2 separate regions of the Homo sapiens genome follow, and region 2 is linked to region 1. Evidence: promoter capture Hi-C in human tissues and cell types (Jung and others, 2019). All regions are on one chromosome and are shown on one strand. Each heading gives the region's core, a stretch centred on a gene start or on the middle of the fragment in contact. The rest is flanking DNA. Distances are from core to core; before and after follow the strand shown.

Evidence for each region. Contacts are between HindIII fragments. The study calls those that stand out against the background at their distance.
Region 2: a fragment that was not itself captured here is called in contact with the fragment with the promoter of BST1 in region 1 in 1 of the 25 tissues and cell types used here (dorsolateral prefrontal cortex).

What each region holds. Positions count from the first base shown.
Region 1 is chr4:15,700,043-15,704,944 of GRCh38, forward strand. BST1 (bone marrow stromal cell antigen 1) reads left to right here and starts at 3,023. Exons shown (of 9, transcript NM_004334.3): 1 at 3,023-3,290. The coding sequence starts at 3,103. RefSeq lists a silencer at 2,962-3,041. The HindIII fragment of the contact is 14,003 bases long and covers 1-4,902 here.
Region 2 is chr4:15,481,041-15,485,942 of GRCh38, forward strand. The region is part of intron 4 of CC2D2A (coiled-coil and C2 domain containing 2A); the gene reads left to right. Among named protein-coding and RNA genes, the nearest start is that of CC2D2A, 14 kb to the left of the region's middle. The HindIII fragment of the contact is 5,893 bases long and covers 1-4,811 here.

The DNA of each region.
Region 1 (4,902 bases), core at 1,773-4,272:
GTAATATCAAAAGCAAGCTAGTTACTTTCTAGATAATGATTACCTCCAGGGTAAACAAGAGGTTTACAACAAATAAAATGTCATAATGTCCCAAACAGAATAATGTCCCAAACAGAAACATCAAGAAATAGCATATAGGTATTGTATTAGTCTGTTCTTGCATTGCTATAGATACCTGAAACTGCTCATTTATAAGAAAAAGAGGTTGAATTGGCTCACAGTTCTGCAGGCTGTAGGAAGCATAGTGGCTTCTGCATCTGGAGAGGCTTCAGGAAGTTTCCAAATGTGGTGGAAGGCAAAGGGGGAGCAATGGGTCTTACACGGTGGCAGCAGGGAGCAAGAGAGAGGGAGGAGGTGCTACACACTTCTTTTTTTTTTTTTTTTGAGACAGAGTCTCACTCTGTCACCAGGCTGGAGTGCAGTGGTGAGATCTCAGCTCACTGCAACCTCCGCCTCCCAGGTTCAAGCGATTCTTCTGCCTCAGCCTCCCGAAGAGCTGGGACTACAGGTGCGTGCCACCACGCCCAGCTAATTTTTGTATTTTTAGTATAGATGGGGTTTCACCATGTTGGCCAGGATGGTCTCGATCCGTGATTCCCAACACACCCCCCACACCAGCCTCCCAAACTGCTGTGATTACAGGTGTGAGCCACGGCGCCCTGCCAGTGCTACACAGTTTAAAACAACCAGATCTCACTTACTATCATGAGAATAGCAACAAGGGGATGGTGCTAGACTATTCTTGAGAAACCCACACCCATGATAAAATCACCTCCCACCAGGCCCCACCTCCAACGTTGGGGATTACAATTTCACATTAGATTTGGTGGGACGAGCCATGCCAGGGATGCCCCAAAATTACTAAACTAAAGGGAAAAGTCAGGCTGGGAACTGCTCAGGGCAAACTTGCCTCCCATTCTATTCAAAGTCATTCAGCTGCTCACTGAGATATATGCATATTCTGATGGCCTTCTTTGGAAAGGCTTATCAGAAACTCAAAAGAAGGCAACCATTTGTCTCTCACCTACCTGAGACCTGGAAGCCCCCTCCGTGCTTCGAGTTGTCCCCGCCTCTCTGGACAGAACCAATGTACTTCTTACATATATTGATTGATATCTCATGTCTCCCTAAAATGTATAAAACCAAGCTGTGCCCTGACCACCTTGGGTACATGTCGTCAGGACTTCCTGAGGTTGTGTCATGGACACGTGTCCTCAACCTTGCTAAAATAAACTTTCTAAATTAATTGAGACCTGTCTCAAAATTTGCGGGTTCACACATGTTATTTAGAAATATGGAAGTAAACACAGGAACAAAACTTGAAAGAATTAAAAATGCTTTCCTCTGGAAAGTGGATTTAACTTAAGGAGGAACTGAACAGGAGAATGCGGGTTTTGGTTACAGAAAAAAAGAGATTCAAATAAAACAGTAGAGAACACCTGTTCTGTCCTCCCTTGTGTTTATCAAGTGCTTGCCAGGCACTCAAAGTTCATTGCTGTCATTATTGTAAGAATTGAGGACTTGGGCCTCCACGTGGTATTCTATTAATACTGGCTCTTTTTTTTTTTTTTTTTGAGACGGAGTCTCACTCTGTTGCCCAGACTGGAGTGCAGTGGCCCGATCTCGGCTCACTGCGAGCTCTGCCTCCTGGGTTCACGCCGTTTTCCCGCCTCAGCCTCCCGAGTAGCTGGGACAACAGGCGCCCGCCACCGCGCCTGGCTAATCTTTTGTATTTTTAGTAGAGACGGGGTTTCACCGTGTTAGCAAGGATGGTCTCGATCTCTTGACCTCGTGATCCACCCGCCTCGGCCTCCCAAAGTGCTGGGATTACAGGTGTGAGCCACCGCGCCCGGCCAATCCTGGCTCTCTTAAACTGAACATCTCCAGGATTTTGCATCTATCAGGAAGGGATATTGTGACCTCTGACAAGTTACAGTCGGCGGTAGGTATCCATGGAGAATTGGTTCCAGGAACCTCCTGGATACCAAAATCCACAGATGCTCAAGGCCCTTATATTAAATGGTGTAGTATACAGTATTTGCACATCCTCTTCTATAATTCACGTCATCTCCAGATTCCTTGTAATATCAAGTACTATGTAATTGTTACATAAGTAGTTGTTACATTGGATTATTTAGGGAATGATGACAAGGAAAAAAAAGTCCGTACATGTTCCGTACAGATGCAAGCATTCTTTTTTTCCTCAAATGTTTCTCATCCGTGGTTAGCTGAATTTGGATGATGAATCCGCAAATCTGGAGGGCCGAACATGCTTAACTTCCCTGAGTTTATCCATTGCTAAAGCGAGAGAAATTACAAACTTAGCTAGGAAGGGTGTTGCGGAAAGTAATTAATATTATACTTGCAAAGTGCTTGGCACGTTGTTGTGGTTATTATTTCCTGAAAACAAACAAACACCACTTATTGGTTGGTGTGAAAGAGGGCATCTGTCAAAGTTGTCGTCCTTTGGAGCCAGAAAAGTATTTCTTCTGATGATGACTGACCTCTCCTCACCTCTCCTTCAACCTTGCGGCTTCTTTGGGGCTCCCTCCCCGTGGACAGCGGTCAAGATTAGCCTGGGCCACAGTGCACTGGTCCTGTCCTGGGTGATGTTCCAAGCTCACTCTTTTTTAATTTTATTTATTTATTAATTTTTTTTTTAGACAGAGTCTCACTCTGTCGCCCAGGGCTGGAGTGCAGTGGTGCAATCACTGCTCGCTGCAGCCTCGATCCCCTGGGGTCAAGCCTCCTCACATCTCACCTCGCAGGTAGCTGAGACTACAGATGCGCACCACCAGGACCAGCTAAGTTTTGTATTTTTTTGTAGAGAGGAGGTTTCTCACCTGTATGTTACTCAGGTTTGTCTCGAACTCCTATACTCAAGCGATCCGCCCGTCTAGGCCTCTCAAAGTGCTGGGATTACAGGCATGAGCCGCCGCGCCCCGCCCCACGCTCAGTCTTGAAATTGTCTGGAACGGGAAACGGCAAACAGCGAGATATCCGAGCGAGAGTCCCGCCCTGCATCAGTTTGCGGAACCGCCTTGGTAGAAGGAGAGAAGGGGAGTGGAGGAAGCACGGGACTGGAGGGACCAAAGTTCCCCGATGGCGGCCCAGGGGTGCGCGGCATCGCGGCTGCTCCAGCTGCTGCTGCAGCTTCTGCTTCTACTGTTGCTGCTGGCGGCGGGCGGGGCGCGCGCGCGGTGGCGCGGGGAGGGCACCAGCGCACACTTGCGGGACATCTTCCTGGGCCGCTGCGCCGAGTACCGCGCACTGCTGAGTCCCGAGCAGCGGTGAGGCAGTCGGCCGGGTGGAAGGGGAGCCGGAAAGAGGCAACGGTGGGGAGGGCCTGGGGAGGGGAAAACTGGCGCTAAAGTTCGGGGTGAGGGGGCAATGAGAGAGGCCTTGAGGGGAGAGGTGAGTGTGGAGACAGCGATGGTCCTGAACGATGGGGGCGAGTGAGGAGGGGGCTGTGAAGTGTGTCTGCAGGTGAGGGGTGCGCTGTGCGGGGTCTAGAGATGAGTGTGTGTGTGTGCGCGCACACACACACTGTAGAGGTGAGGGGTGTGTGCGTGTGTTCTAGAGGTGAGGGGGGTGTGTGTGTGCGCGCGCTCTAGAGGTGGGAGGTGTGTGTGTGCTCTAGAGGTGGATGTGTGTGTGTGTGCTCTAGAGGTGGGGGTGTGTGTGTGTGTGTGTGCTCTAGAGGTGAGGGGTGTGTGTGTGTGTTCTAAAGGTGAGATGTGTGTGTGTGTTCTAGAGGTAAGGGGTGTGTGTGTTCCAGAGGTGAGGTGTCTGTATGTGTGTTCTAGAGGTGAGGGGTGTGTGCATGTGTGTTCTAGAGGTGAAGGGGGTGTGTGTGCGTGCGCTCTAGAGGTGAGGGGTGTGTGTATTCTAGAGGTGAGGGGTGTGTGTGTTCTAGAAGTGAGGGGTGTGTGTGTTCTGGAGGTGAGATGTGTGTGTGTGTGTTCTAGAGGTGAGGGGTGCGTGCATGTGTTCTAGAGGTGTGTGTGTATCTGTGTTCTAGAGGTGAGGGGTGTGTGTGTGTAGTCTAGAGGTGACAGGTGTGTGTGTGTGGTCTATAGGTGAGGGATGTGTGTGTGGTCTAGAGGTGAGGGATGTGTGTGTGGTCTAGAGGTGAGGGGTGTGTGTGTTCTAGAGGTGAGGGGGTGTATGTGTATTCTAGAGCTGAGGAGAGTGTGTGTTCTAGAGATGAGGTGTGTATGTGTGTTCTAGAGGTGAGGGGTGTGTGTGTGTTCTGGAGTTGAGGGGTGTGTGTTCTAGAGGTGAGATGTGTGTGTTCTAGAGATGATGGGTGTGTGTGTTCTAGAAGTGAGAGGTGTGTGTGTTCTAGAGGTAAGGGATGTGTGTGTGTGTGTGTTCTAGAGGTGAGTTGTGTGTGTGTTCTAGAGGTGAGATGTGTGTGTGTTTGTTCTAGAGGTGAGGGGTGTGTGTGTGTAGTCTAGAGGTGACAGGTGTGTGTGTGTGGTCTATAGGTGAGGGATGTGTGTGTGGTCTAGAGGTGAGGGATGTGTGTGTGGTCTAGAGGTGAGAGGTGTGTGTGAGTGTGAAGGAGGGTGGAGAGGTATCCCTCTAGAAGTGAGGGTGGGGTAGAGGTGAACTGGGTAACAGCCCATTGCCACCCAGCAGATGTTTAGTCTGAATACTCAGAACCCAGAATGTGATCTCAGGTTGGAATTCCTTGAGTCCAGTCCTTCCAGAATTCAAATTTCAGATCCCCTAAATCTGGAGGATTTCTGAAGTTTGGGTCTTTCTTGCCAGTGCTGCATTTCTTACTGATTTTTGTTCCTTCTGTGGCCCCCCTTTTCTTATGTTTGTGATGTCTTTCTTGTGCTGATCATTTTTATTGTCGCACATTTCAGGCAAATAAGAAACAGCAGAGAACCA
Region 2 (4,902 bases), core at 615-3,114, 220 kb before region 1:
ATTATTTGGATGTTTGTCCCCTCCAAATCTGAAATGTGACCTTCAATGTTAGAGGTGGAGCCTAGTGGGAGGTGTCTGGGTCATGAGGGCACAACTCATGAATTGGTTGGTGTTGTCCTCTAGTAATGAGTGAGTTCTTGCTCTGTTCACTCACAGGAGAGCTGGTTGTTAAAAAGAGCCTGGGCAGGCCAGGCACGGTGACTCACGTCTGTAATCCCAGCACTTTGGAAGGCCGAGGCGGGTAAATCACCTGAGGTTGGGAGTTCAAGACCAGCCTGACCAACATGGAGAAACCCCATCTCTACTAAAAATACAAAAAAATTAGCCAGGCGTGGTGGCGCATGCCTGTAATCCCAGCTACTTGGGAGGCTGAGGCATGAGAATTGCTTGAACCTGGGAGGTGGAGGTTGCAGTGAGCCGAGATCGGAGCACTGCACTCCAGCCTAGGCAACAGAGCAAGACTCCATCTCAGAAAACAAACAAACAAAAAAGAGCCTGGAACCTCCTCCCCTCTCTCTTGCTCCCTCTCTCACCATGCGACACACCTGTTTCCCCTTCCCCTTCTGACATAAGTGAAAGCTTCCTAAGGCCTCACCAGAGGCAGATGCTGGCACCATGCTTATTGCACAGTCTGCAGAACAGTGAGCCAAAATAAACCTCTTTTCTTTATAAATTACCCAGTCTCAGATATTCCTTTATAGCAATGCAAAATGGACTAACAATACATAAGTTAGGGAGTGTTAATTAGAATGGAAATTAAATATGCAGAAACTCAAAGGAAGATGAAATTGTTAGGGAAGACATATGTGTTAACCTAGTGAGGCTTGAATCAGATGTTTGGAAGAAATGAGGGAGGTTTCTGAGGCTCCTGGTGACCTTGCCATTGAGGACACATATACTTCTCCCCCTACACACGCCTTTTCTTCTTCCCCAGTACAATGAACATTAGGAATTACCTGCTCATTGTAGGGAAAATGACCACCCTTCAGGCATTGCTTTTCATGAAAAGTGGATTAGACAAGAGGAGAAGTGGTTACACTTTTTAATTGTTACATAATTGTTAGACTGTTTTCCCTATGGCAAAGTTGGGAAATAAGTAACTGTTGGAAACTAGAGGCCTTTGGAAGCAAGTAGACTCTTAGATTGGAAAAATGTGGTTCTAATCTAAAAGCAATGATACAATGAGAGCTGTTATGAATTAATAAAAACAGAACCAAAATTTATCTCATATGGCTGTTTCTTTTTCTAAATGCTCAAAATTATTTATTACTACCAAAGATTACAACTTGTCATTTCAGGCTGCCATAACAAAATACTATAGACTGGGGGGCTTAAACACCCAACATTTATTTTCTCATGGCTCTGAAGGCTGGACATCTGAGATCATGGTGCCAGCATGGCCGGTTTCCAGTGAGGCCCTTCTTCCTGGCTAGTTGGTGGCCACCATCTTGCTGTGTGCTCACATGACCTCTTCTCTGTGCCTGCACTGGGGGAGGGAGAGGCTCTACTGTCTCCTCTTATAAGGACACTAATCCTAATCCTATCAGGGCCCCTCCCTTATGATCGCATTTGACCTTAATTACCTCCTACAGGTTCTATCTCTAAATGCAGTCAGATTGGGGGAGAAGGCTTCAACATACAGATTTTCAGAGGGGGGACACAATTCAGTCCTTAGCACAACTACTGGATATTTAATTATTTATTTTAAAATCAAGGGAAAGACTGCCAGGAGAGGTGGCCACCAGTCAAGGCTCTGTGACATAAAAAGTGGATTATTTTCTAACTCGAAAATGAAGAAGATACTGTCCACTGTCACCATGGAGATGATCTATGCATTAGTCCCTTCCCCCACAAAAAGCGCTATTTCTGAATTGGGGAATGGAGAGGTATGGAATGAACAGAAGGCTGAGACCTGCCTACTGGAGCCACACCATGACCATCCAGTGTCTGGGAAGCCCTGGGTGGAGCTGGAAGCTGCTGATGAATTGGCAGCACTGATAAACCAAGACGAAGAGAAAACATCCCCAGCAGTGAGGGGTGGAGCATATGGTGGATAAGGAGTCTGTGGAGCCAGGCATCTGTCAGAAATGAGAAGTCAAAGCCAGCAGACAAAGTCAAGAGAGCAGAGGAAGTATTATTATACCAGTGGCATTAGAGCAGGAGACAGACAAGTAAAAAGGAATGATGAGTGCTGGCAGAAACAACAGAGTGCTGGACTGCCCTAGGCAGGCAAGGATAGCAAGGGAGGTGACAGAAGAATGGAGCCTCCACATATGGAGGAGTCTGCATGGGGAACTGTAGGGTGAGGAGGATTCCCAATTCAGGTCTTGGAAACACACAGATGTATGTGTAGAAAACACGGAGAGGGTCAAGAGCAAGATAGAAGCAGCCATGTGCTTTATGACCCAGTCATAGAAATCACCTATCAGTCCTTTCGACATATTTGTTAGAAGCATGTCCCTAAATCCAGCCCACATTTAAGGGAAGGAAAATCAGCCTCCTTCTTTTGAAAGAAGGAGTGTCAAAGAATGTATGGACATTTTTACTACCACATTAATTTTTCTTTAAAACTCCTCTTTATCTCACTTTTCTACTCAGAAATCTATTATATTACATTACATAAAATCCACACTCTCTTATTTATTCCGGGCTCTAAGGATCTATGCAATTGGGCTCCTTCCGGTTGTATTTTCCAGTGTTTTCCAGTGTGCTCCACTTTGGTTGACTCCTTACTGGCCTCTGAATGCCTCGTGACCATCTCAGCATTTCTGGGCTTTGGTTCCCACTTTAAGAGAGTTCTCTGATTGTGTCTTTATTAAGCTTGTGATTGAAACACAATTGAGCTGTTGCAGTTAAGACCATGGGCGTTGGCTTAGACAAGAGTGGGTACCAGTCTCTACCTATCTTACTCCCTTGGGCAAGTTCTCCGACCTACCTAAACTTTAGTTTCCTTATTTGTAAAACAGGGACAATAATAGATTGCGTGAACACTGCCACAGAGTTTATACTCCAGTTGTGGGAGGGATGAGAGGAAAAAAGAGAAAAACAAATGAAGTAAACTAGATAAACATAGAGTACAGCAGGTGTGAGAAGTCCTGAAGAGAAAGATAAAGAATAAGCTGGCAGGACTGCAGTGGGAGTGAGAGGATGAGGTGCATTTATGAAAGGAAATGAGTGATCCCCAAGGGGAGAATGTTCCAGGCAGTGGTCTTAAGGCAGGAATGTGCTTGCGACATTAAGCAACAGCCAGGGGGCAAGGGCAGTGGAGAGTGAACAACAAGGAAAAGGAAAAAAATAAAATCAGAAGGGAGGAGGGGAATTGTACCCAGCCTAGTGGGCCCTTTGACTTTTAATCCGAATGAGATGAGCGTCATTGGAGGGTTCAAGCCCAGGACTGATATAATCAGATTTAAGGCTGACGGCTGCTGTGCTGAGTAGACTTTGGAAGGAGTGAGGGCAGAAGCACAGAGACCAGGTAGAGGCCAACAGCAAAAATCCAGGTGGGAGTTATTGGGGAATGGGACTGGCGGGTAGTGGAAGGGGTGGAAAGAGTGTGGGAAATCTGGGTATTTGGAAGGTAGAGACGAACAGGTATATTTCTCGATTGAACAAGAATTATGAAAGCAGGAAGGTTGCCTCCATGGTTTTTGACTTGAGTCAAAAATGGGTAACTCCACTTTCCCCAATAGAGTTTCAGAGAAGGAAAAGATGGCAGAAAGGGCAGGTTTGAAGGTAGAAATTGAATGGACATGCAAAGTTGAGATGCCTGCTGAATATCCAAGTGGACATGGATGTATGGATACAGGGATCTGGTGGTTGGGGAGAGGTGGAGAGTGGACAGGGATTCCTTGATCTTTTATCTAGAATGTCCCTTTCCCACCTCTGCCCTCTTTCCTCTCAGCTGGTTCTACTTTCCTTCAGAGCACTCATCACCTCCCGGCATTTTCCAATCAGCTGACTATCTTGATCATTAGAAGGAAAGCTCCCTGAGATCAAGACTTTGTCTGCTGTATTCATTGCTTATTCCCCAATGCAATATTTGGAGCTTGATAAACATATATTGAAAAACTGCCATGGGCATAACAACAAATGCTCAAGACAGGGTCCTGCCTCTGGTAACCATCATTCTACTCACTATCTCTATCAGATCAATTGTTTTAGCTCCCACATATGAGTGAAAACATGTACTAGTTGTCTTTCTGTGCCTGGCTTTCTTCACTAACATAATGTCCTCCAGTTCCATCCATGTTGTTGCAAACTGCAAAATTTCATTCTTTTTTATGGCTGAATAATATTCCATTGTGTATATGCAGCATGCTTTCTTTATCCATTTATCCATTGATGGATACTTAGGTTAATTCCGTATCTTAGCTGTTGTGAATAGTGCTGCAGTAAAAATAGGAGTTCAGATATCTCTTTGATATACTGCTTTCCTTTCTTTTGGATATATACCCAGCAGTGGCATTTCTGGATCATAGGGTAGTTCTATTTTTAGTTTTTTGAGAAACTTCATATTGTTTTCCATAACAGCTGTACAAATTTACATTCTCACTAACAGTATACAAGCATTCCCTTTTCTCTGCATTCTTGCCAGCATCTGTTTTGTCTTTTTGATGAAAGCCATTTTAACTGGAGTAAGATATCTCATTGTGGTTTAATTTGCATATCCCTCATGATTAGTGAATTTGAGCATTTTTGCGTATACCTGTTGGCCATTTGTATGTCTTCTTTTGAGAAATGTCTATCAATGTTTTTTGCCTATTTTTAATGAGATTATTTATGTTTTATCTGTTGAGATATTTGAGTTCCTAGTATATTCTGGATATCAGTCCCCTTTCAGAGGAGTAATTTGCAAATATTTTTTCACATCTACTGAACTGATCATGTCCTTTTTCCTTCATT